Linked DNA regions of Homo sapiens: region 1 is linked to region 2. The links are contacts of gene promoters, found by promoter capture Hi-C in human tissues and cell types (Jung and others, 2019). All regions are on one chromosome and are shown on one strand. The core of a region is centred on a gene start or on the middle of the fragment in contact, and the rest is flanking DNA. Distances in the headings are between cores, read along the strand shown.

What was found. The method cuts DNA at HindIII sites, captures the fragments that hold promoters and counts their contacts. A contact is called where the count stands out against the background at its distance.
Region 1: a fragment that was not itself captured here is called in contact with the fragment with the promoter of GALK1 in region 2 in 1 of the 25 tissues and cell types used here (spleen).

The regions. Positions count from the first base shown.
Region 1 is chr17:76,038,013-76,043,098 of GRCh38, forward strand. SRP68 (signal recognition particle 68) reads right to left here. Exons shown (of 16, transcript NM_014230.4): 14 at 2,891-2,966; 15 at 2,407-2,462; 16 at 773-1,921. The coding sequence ends at 1,694. Among named protein-coding and RNA genes, the nearest start is that of EVPL, 13 kb to the left of the region's middle. RefSeq lists enhancers at 2,146-2,847, 2,848-3,549. The HindIII fragment of the contact is 4,661 bases long and covers 1,119-5,086 here.
Region 2 is chr17:75,763,651-75,768,443 of GRCh38, forward strand. It overlaps GALK1 (galactokinase 1), which reads right to left and starts at 1,542. Exons shown (of 8, transcript NM_000154.2): 1 at 1,322-1,542; 2 at 247-436. The coding sequence starts at 1,486. RefSeq lists enhancers at 557-766, 797-1,026 and silencers at 1,137-1,286, 1,517-1,706. The HindIII fragment of the contact is 26,637 bases long and covers 1-4,793 here.

The sequences.
Region 1 (5,086 bases), core at 2,199-4,698, 280 kb after region 2:
TAACTTTGAAACAAAGATGGTAACAGCACTTTCCGGAAATAAACCCCCTTCTTGCCTGGGGCCCAGACTGCCTTTGTAGGACTAACGAATTAGCCACAAAAATTGAAATTATGGTTTAGGAGTCATGCAGCCAGAGGCCCAAGATTCTGAACCTTCCCAGTTGCTCCTAGGGATGACATCACTGTTGTAAAACCTAAGAATGGTGCTCGAGATATTTTTCAGACCCTGCACTTTATGGATCAGCTGGCACCATCCATCCAAACTGGCTCATCTGGTCTTGTAGCCCCCACCCAGGAAACCGACTCAGCACAAGAGGCCAGCTTCAACTCCCTATGACTTCATCTCCAACTCCCTGACTTCATCTCCAACTCCCTATGACTTCATCTCCAACCTGACCAATCAGCACTCCCCATTTCCTGACCCCCTACCCACCAAATTATCCTTAAAATTCCCAGTCTCTGAATTTTCAGGGAGACCAATGTGAGTAATAAACTCCAGTCTCCTGTTTAGACGGCTGTGTGTGAACTAAACTCTCTATTGCAATTCCTGTTTCCATGAATCAACTCCATCTGGGCAGCGGGCAAGAACCCTCGGGGGGTTACAATGCCATCCTGAAACAATGCTCTTGGATTTTTAACCAGTCAGCCTTTTCTTCAAGCCACTGGGTTTGCTCAAAAACGGAAAACATCTAAGCCAACATTTCTTGTGACGAATTTTCTTTCCTATGTGACAGATGAGTTTTGATTTCCAAAGGGAATCGTTAAGTGTCAGGTACATGTTTAAATCACTTTTATTCCTTGCTTTCTTACATTGTTTTTGTGACTTCTATTATTGATGTTATAATAGAAGTGAAAAGGGATGACTAAGGAAAAACGGGGGGTAACGAAGGGGATTAAAATATAATGGCATCTAAAAATTACACATTGGGAAGTCCTGAAAAATAGTGCCTCTAACATGTGTATCTGGCATCAGCCTCACCTAGTTGCCGGTAAGTCAGGTTACACTTGACCTCACCGGCTTCACGCAACTAGGCTCCCGAGGAGAGAACGGGGACTGGACATGAGGGAGGGCATATAAGAAATGGGCACAGTCTCCGTCATCTTTGCCTTTTAATATAAGATTTGGTTTCATCATTTCTGAGTGTAACATATTTCTTCTAAAAATAGAGCTCTCTGCTTGTCTGAAACTTCTTAGCGTTCACTGGGAGGTGAAGGGGAATAAGGCTGACCGTAATTCTGGGGTGACGTTGCCAGTTTCATAGTCATAGATAAACTTCTCAAGGGCTCCTGGATGCTCACAGCAAGGATGAGTTCATTTCAAATCCATGGTACTGAAGAAGCATGACAAAGCGTTTCAAGGCCCCATCTGTGCCTGGTGTGGACTCCTGAACGCATTACTGACCAAAGGCAATCAATCACAGCTCACAGGGCACCAGACAGCAGCGGCCCCTTTCCCAGGAGGTACAGGAGACAGGATGACCCTGCACACATTTACCAGAAGACAACAGGGTGCTCTCCTGACACGCTGCTTAAGAACGTGTACAGACACAAGATGTAGGAATGCAGGGCCGAAGATGTTAAACTCTTGCCCCGGGCCAATGCAGACCTGGATTTAATATCATGGAACTTGCTGGGATTTTCTCACAATACAGATTAAGAGTCAGAATCTCCCCCGCCCCCGAGGAAGAGCCTGGTTAGCTCCTGAATCCAAAGATGCCCTTGATGTATCCAGTGAGGCCACTCTTGGTCTTCTGTTCCAACTTGTCCTCAAGGGGTGGGAAAGCCACATGGTTGAGGGCCAGGTCAAAGAACAAAGGCTTGCAGGGAATGGGCTGGAAGCCTGGTGGGAAGTGCACAAGGTTGGCTTGCTTGGTGACAAGGGAAGGGTCCAGGCAGAATGTCTCAAACCGTTCAACCAGAGGCTGGAAGTCAAATCAAAGAGACGTATGTAGCATCGGTCACAGAACACCCTTGGTGAACATTCCTGAGTGCCGACTGCCTGGTTCAGAGCTTTACAGGGGCCATCTCACTCAATCACTCAATCCCGACAGCCTCCTACGAGGAGGGGCTACCACATCCCTGCCTTGTAGTCAAAGTCACTGAAACCCAGAGAGGCTAAGAGAGTGGCAGGCTAGGACTGGGGTGCAGGCCTGTTGGCCATGTTACGAGTTAGAGCTCTTACCCACGGGTGCTACTCTTTACAGCAACAGGTTCCTCAACCCTCTTCCCAGGGATGATCTGACATCTAGGAAGCTTTATGCAAGAAGCTTTGAGGTTGGGTAAGAGAAGGGAGGGAGGTGGGGGGTTTCCTTAGAAATTTAGGGTCCACTGCTCTATAATGAGCATGCATTCCTAGTTTGTTACTAATCCTGCTTCGTATTCCTCAAAAACCATGGCCCAGACTTACCTTATTGTCCTTGACTTGGGAGGAGGAGGTCTCTGTTTGATGAGCGTCGTTTGCATCTGAAAGTTTCACAGGGATTCAGTAAGAACAAGGATTTATAATAGCACACTAATCACAAATGAGGCCTATCACACAGGTGGCCCCTACATCCCAAAAGCAAAAGGAGCCAGCATGTGGGGAAGCCAGGCCTGTCTCCTGCTGAGAAGTGGTGGAGATAAACAGATCAATCCCAGATCCAATGCCGTCGGCCCAGTGAAGCCAGCACAGTTGCATGAGGACAGTAACAGGGAGAAGGGCCAGTGTAACAGTGCACTCGAAATGCTTCTACACAATCTGATGCCCAGCTGGCACAAGTAAAGGCCAGGAACATCTTACAGATGAACCAAGACAACCCTTTCAACCTTAAAACAGTAGTATGGGGTGTGACAGAGAAGGGGAGTGGCAGGAAGGGAAGTCTGGGGATACAAAGGCCAGGCAGGGGGCTCACCAAGGATGGCTGCGGCCTGCAGGGAGCACTTCTCTGACCGCACTTGAGTGATGAGCTCTTGCACATCAGGCAGGTCCTGTAAGATTCAGAAAACGTGTACTCCCGAGCCAGGGCCAGGTCAGAGAAGCACACCAAGCTAACCCGAGTTAACCGACCCCACTGGTATTTTCACAGGACTTTAGACTTTCTAAACGGTTCTCACTATTAGAACAAAACAAAACAAAGCAAAACACTAGCCTGTTTCAAATGGGAAAAGCTATGCCACGGCTTAAGTAATAATGCCTGGAAATAAAGATGATGTTAATATTAATAAATTTATCATACACTAAACAGTGTGCCAGGCATTGTTCTAAGCAGGTTACATAATCACTAGCTTAACCTTCTCAATAATCCTGAGGCAGTTTGCACTCCCATTTTACAGATGAGAAAATGGAAGCATGGAGAGGTTAAGCAATGTGCCAGCCATGCGCCCAAGTGGCAGCGGGCTGGGGTAAAGGGCTGGGCCATCTGGCTCAAGGGCATAAGCCCTTAGTCGTTACATCCCACTGCTTCAACGAGGGTGATGAATTTTCCTGGCCTCGGTCTCTTGCTTGGCATATTGGGAATGACCTGAGAAGGTCTGGATGCCACAGAATCCTTCATGCCTCCATTCTGACACTTCCCCCACAAAACAATTCAGCACATGAAATCAGGTCCACACTGGTTTGCCCCGCGTCCCAAGATGATATTCCATGGTGGTGACGCTGCCATGCCTGTCACTCCCACCTGCCCACATCCCTGTGCTGTTTTCTAGCTCTGCCTTTGCTTGGGGTCTCTTTTATTTCTTCTGCATCCATAGGTGGGCTCCTGCATGCCAGTCTGTGGCTACAACAAAACTACAAGCTCTCTGAAGGCAGAGAGCTTCTTCTCTACCCCTCTGAGCTTGCACGGGATCCAGCAGCTCCTACACTGGCTGGCGTGACTCCATCAACGACAGGAACCTTTGCTTGCTTTTTTTTTTCTTTTTTTGAGACGGAGTCTCACTCTGTTGCCGCCCAGGGGCGTGATCTTGGCTCACTGCAAGCTCCGCCTCCCGCGTTCACGCCATTCTCCTGCCTCAGCCTCCCGAGTAGCTGGGACCACAGGCGCCTGCCACCATGCCCGGCTAATTTTTTTGTATTTTTAGTAGAGGTGGGGTTTCACTATGTTGGCCAGGATGGTCTCGATCTCCTGACCTCGTGATCTGCCCGCCTCGGCCTCCCACAGTGCTGGGATTACAGGCGTGAGCCACGGTGCCCGGCCCCTGCTTGCTTTTCTAAATGGTCTCTACTTGTCAAATATACATGGATTCCTTAGACCAGCTGATGTTGCAACAAGTTCTATACCATCACAGCACGCCACAAGCTTAAGAAGCTAGTTATCGTTCAATAATCAGTAAAGCACCGGGAGTAGTGGCTCACGCCTGTAATCCTAGCACTTTGGGAGGCTGAGGTCAGCGGATCAAGAGGCTTGATCACTTGAAGTCAGGAGTTTGAAACCAGCCTGGCCAACATGGTGAAACCCTCTACTAAAAATACAAAAATTAGCTGGGCTTGGTGGCACAAGCCGAGATCGTGCCACTGCACTCTAGCCTAGGAGACAGAGACTCCATCTTAAAAAAAAAAAAAAAAAAAAGTAAAGCAAAGAAAGCCTTCCATGGCTGCACTTTATTTATTTATTTTGAGATGGAGTCTTGCTCTGTCACTCAGGCTGGAGTGCAGTGGCTTGATCTTGGCTCACTGCAACCTCTGCCTCCCAGATTCAAGTGATTCTCCTGCCTCAGCTTCTCAAGTAGCTGGGATTACAGGTGTGCACCACCACACCTGGCTATTTTTTTCTATTTTTGTAGAGACAGAGTTTCGCCATGTTGCCCAGGCTGGTCTCGAACTCCTTACCTCAAGTGATCTGCCCACCTCAGCTTCCCAAACTGCTGGGATTACAGGCATGAGCCACTGCATCCAGCCCTGTGGCTGTACTTTAGATCAAGCATTTCCTTAGCTTTAACAGACCCCCAAATGGCCTGGGGATCTTGTTAAAATGCAGATATTGGCCAGCATGGTGGCTCATGCCTCCAATCTCAAGGTTTTGGGAGGCAGAGGCAGGAGGACTGCTTGAGGCCAGGAGTTCGAGGCCATGAGTTCAAGGCCAGCCTGGGCAACATAGTGAGACCCCCATCTC
Region 2 (4,793 bases), core at 292-2,791:
CCTCCTGGTTTAGGGCTCTGGAGGGAAAAAAGGCTGGGGTTCAAATCCTGGCTCCTCCAATCAGGTCACGGGAAACCCAGGGCAAGTTCCCGACCTTCTGGGGGCATCAGTTTCCTCATCTGTACAATGGGATGCTCCACTCTACAAGCCTTCCCCACAGTGTATCAGACAAATGAATGGGCTCTGTGGCTGTGAGGTGGCACTCCTAGTATCAGTGAGGACTTGGCTCAGGCCTGGGCCCCATACCTGGGTAGTACTGAATCACTCCCTTGACATAGTTGGCCCACCGAGGAGTCCCAGGCTCCAGCGAGCGCTGGGCTGTGGGCAGTGGAAACTGCAGCCGCTGGGGCTCATCGGCACCCTCAGAGGTGGTGAGGAGAGACACCAGCCCATCCTTGCGGGGGCTGCCCACCAGCACCGTCATGAGCTCCAGAGCCTGGCAGGAGAGACAAGCAGTACGTGAGGCTTCCGCCAGCTGGAGTAAGCCTCTCCAATGACACTGCCTCCAGCCGAGGTTCTGATGCCTCCACAGTCATCAGGTTCTGAACCTCCAGGTTCAGCGTCGCAGGGAAGATCCTGAGGGCCAGCTGACCTTGGGGGCTTGAGCCCTGCCCCCTTAGGTCTTCAGGGGCGGGGCGGCTGCAGCTGGAGCACAGACCTGGACTCTGCCCTGAGCTGTGGGGCAAGGGGGAGAGCTAGCCCAAAGGGAAAACAGATCACTGGAGCTCCAAAGCCTTTACATTTTGGGGTGGCTCTGGACATCCTGTACCTGTGCACTCCCCAAGCTGCAGATGGGGCGGAAAGCGCCCCCCGCTGAAAGCTGGGAGTCCTCACTCCCAAGTCGCAGCCCCGCCAAGAACCTGCTGTGTGACCTCCAGCAGTTCACTGGGCCTCTCTAGGCCTCAGTTTCCTCCTCTGTAAATTGAACGGGCTGGGCCAGAAGGCTACGTTCGCCCAGGTCTGCGGTTGGGGCCCCACGGTGGCCGGAGGCGCGGAGTGTCCCCTTCTGCGTGGCACACAGGGCCTCACAGTTTAAGGGGAACATGCTCCCAGGTTGAAGGCGAGGAGCCCCAGCCCCCAGAGGGCGGGCTTGAGCCAAGAGGCGGCCGCGCACCCTCTCCCGGCCACTTCCTCGCTTCCTCCCTTCCAACGTGGGGAACAGCCTGTCCCGGGGACTCTTCCGTGCACCGGTGCTCCAGGCGCAGCTGCCCGCCCCACATCTCCCGCGGGAAGAACTCGCCCCCAGCGTCCCCGAGGCCCGCCCTCCTCGGCGGCCGGGACAGGCGGCGGCGGGCTAGGGGCTCCCCGTGCAGCCCCTCACCATAGGCAGCACCAGGCCCTGGTTGTAGTCCGTGTGTTCCCCGATGAGGTTGACGCGGCCCGGCGCTGACACGGCCAGCTCGGGCTCGGCCCCGAACTCCTCCCGGAAGGCTCGCCGGGCCTCGGCCAGCAGCTCCGCGACCTGGGGCTGTCTCAAAGCAGCCATGACGCGCGCCTGCAGCTCTGCACAGCTGCTCCGGCACAGCCCCGTCGGCGCGGGATGCTCGGGCGGGGCCCCGCGCGGGGGTGCGCACATTCCCGCCAGCCCCGCCCCGCGCCCGGACGCCCCGCCCCCAGACCTCAGCCGGTTCCGCCCCCACCCGCAACTCCCGTGGGAATCCAGCTGCTGGGTGGTGGGTGGCAGGGGCTAATGGTGCCGGGTGGGATACAGCGCCCCCGATGGTGTCCTTCCCTCTGGACTTCGGGAAGAACCAATGAGCACTCACTAGAGTGAGAATAGCCCTGAGTGGCACTTGGCATGACCAGGATTTCTGAGCTGCCCTTCCCTGGCGCTGGTGACTTTCTATGTGCCTCACCACCCACCACCACCCACACAGCCAGAGCAATGGAGCTGGCACCCGGTTGACCTGGGATTCCCAAAGGGATCCCCTAGGTCCCCAGGGCCAGCAGCTGTGAGAGGTCATCAGCCTCTGATCACCGGTCTCCAAGAGGGTGACCTGACACTCACTGTAAGTAGAGATAAAGACAGACAAGTTTGGGCCGGGCGCAGTGGCTCACGCCTGTAATCCCAGCACTTTGGGAGGCCGAGGTGTGCAGATCACCTGAGGTCGGGAGTTGGAGACCAGCCTGACCAACATGGAGAAACCCCATCTCTACTAAAAAATACAAAATTAGCTGGGCATGGTGGCTCATGCCTGTAATCCCAGCTACTCGGGAGGCTGAGGCAGGAGAATCACTTGAACCTGGGAGGCGGAGGTTTCGGTGAGCTGAGATCACACCATTGCACTCCAGCCTGGGCAACAAGAGCAAAACTCTGTCTCAAAAAAAAAAAAGACAAGTTTGGTGGTGACCAGAGAGTCAATTTTACAAGCTCCTTTTCTAGGTAATACGCAACAGCTCCTAGCAATGGAGAATTGGACTAGGGTGGCGGTGGCCAGCAGTGGGCCCAGCCCCTCCCTTAAGGACCTGCCACAGCTGTCCAGGTAGGTTGTGCTGTTGGCCCCAGCAGGCACTACTTCAGCCCAGAAGCCCTTGTCTCAGAGGCGTGGCCTTGTTCCCAGTCAGGCACTCTTCTCTTGCTATCCTGCATCCTAAACCTGCTGGCCGGCCCCAACTGCTGCCTTGATACCTGTCCACAGCTGCCCACCCTACATGGAACCTTGAAACTGAAAGACTGAAATGTAAGCAGCTTGCTTGGGGTTAGGGTGGGAGTAGTGTGGGGAGTTATGGCCAGGGATTTAGCTTGGGGCCTGCTCAGGGGTGTGCCCAAAGAGTGGGGAACTGCATTCCAAGGGCAATTCTGAAAACTCTTAGAAGAAAACATAGGGGTACAGTTTTGTGACATTGGTTAGGAAATGTTTATTTGGTTTCTGTTTTTGAGACGGAGTTTCGCTCTCGTTGTCCAAGCTGGAGTGCAATGGCGTGATCTCAGCTTACTGCAACCTCTGCCTCCCGGGTTCAAGCGATTCTCCTGCCTCAGCCTCCGGAGTAGCTGGGATTACAGGCACGTGCCACCATGCCCGGCTAATTTTTTGTATTTTTAGTGGAGACTGGGGTTTCACCAGGTTAGCCAGGCTGGTCTCAAACTCCTGACCTCAGGTGATCCACCCACCTTGGCCTCCCAAAGTGCTGGGATTACAGGCGTTAGCCACCACACCTAGTCATGTTTTTTTATTTTTATTTATTTACGTATTTATTTATTTTAGACAGATCTTGCTCTGTTACCCAGGCTGGAGTGCAGTGGCGCGATCTTGGCTCACTGCAACCTCCGCCTCCCAGGTTCAAGCGATTCTCCTGCCTCAGCCTCCCCAGTAACTGGGATTACAGGCACCCTCCACCATGCCTGGATAATTTTTGTAAAAGCAGGGTTTCACCATGTTGGCCAGGCTGCTCTTGAACTCCTGACCTCAAGTGATTTGCCTGCCTCAGCCTCCCAAAGTGCTGGGATACAGGTGTGAGCCAATGCGGCCAGGCAATGGTTTTTTAGATATGACATCAAAAGCACAAGTGACAACAGAAAAATAAACTGTACTTCATCAAAGTGAAATATTTTTCTGCAACAAAGAACTGTCACGCGTGTCCGTGTGAACAGACCACCAAACAGGCTTTGTGTGAGCAACAAGGCTGTTTATTTCACCTGGGTGCAGGCGGGCTGAGTCTGAAAAGAGTAAGCAAAGGGTGGTGGGATTATCATTAGTTCTTATAGGTTTTGGGATAGGTGGTGGAGTTAGGAGCAATGTTTTGCGGGCAGGGATGGATCTCACAAAGTACATTCTCAAGGGTGGGGAGAATTACAAAGAACCTTCTTAAGGGTGGGGGAGATTACAAAGTACATTGATCAGTTAGGTTGGGGCAGGAACAAATCACAGTGGTGGAATGTCATCAGTTAAGGCTATTTTCACTTCTTTTGTGGATATTCAGTTGCTTCAGGCCATCTGGATGTATACGTGCAGGTCACGGGGGCTATGATGGCTTAGCTTGGGCTCAGAGGCCTGACAAGAACATTGTCAAGAAAGTGAAAAGACAACTCACAGAATGGAAGAAAGTACTTGCAAATCATGTATATCTCAGGGGCTTGGAGTTTGAGACCAACTTGGGCAACGTGGGAAGACCTCACTGCTACAAAAAAAAAAAAAAAAATTAGCCAGGTTGGGTGGCACACACCTGTGGTCCCAGCTACTCAGAAGGTGAGAGACCCTGTGTCAAAGAAGAAAAAAAAAAAGCAAAAGATTTCAAGAGACATTTTTCCAAATAATATAAATACAAATGGCCAATAAGCACATGAAAAGATGCTCAAATGTCAGATGTGGTGGTTCATGCCTGTGATCCCAGACTTTGGGAGACCGAGGTAGGCGGATCACTTGAGAGCAGGAGTTCAAGACCAGACCAGCCTGGCCAACATGGTGAAACCCCATCTCTACTGAAAACACAAAAATTAGCCAGGCATGGTGGCGCACATGTGTAATGCCAGCTTACTCGGGAGGCTGAGACACAAGAATCACTTGAACCCGGGGGGTGGAGTTTGCAGTGAACCGAGATCTCGTCACTGCACTCCAGCCTAGGTGACATAGTGAGACTTGGTCTCGGGAAAAAAAAACAAGTGATGTATCTATACAATAGAAATATTAATCCATAAAAAGAAATGAAGTACTGATACGTGTAACAACATGGATGGAGCCTTCAAGAAAAAAATTAGCTGGGCGTGGTGGCGGGCACCTGTAGTCCCAGCTACTCGGGAGGCTGAGGCAGGAGAATGGCGTGAACCTGGGAGGCGGAGCTTGCAGTGAGCAGAG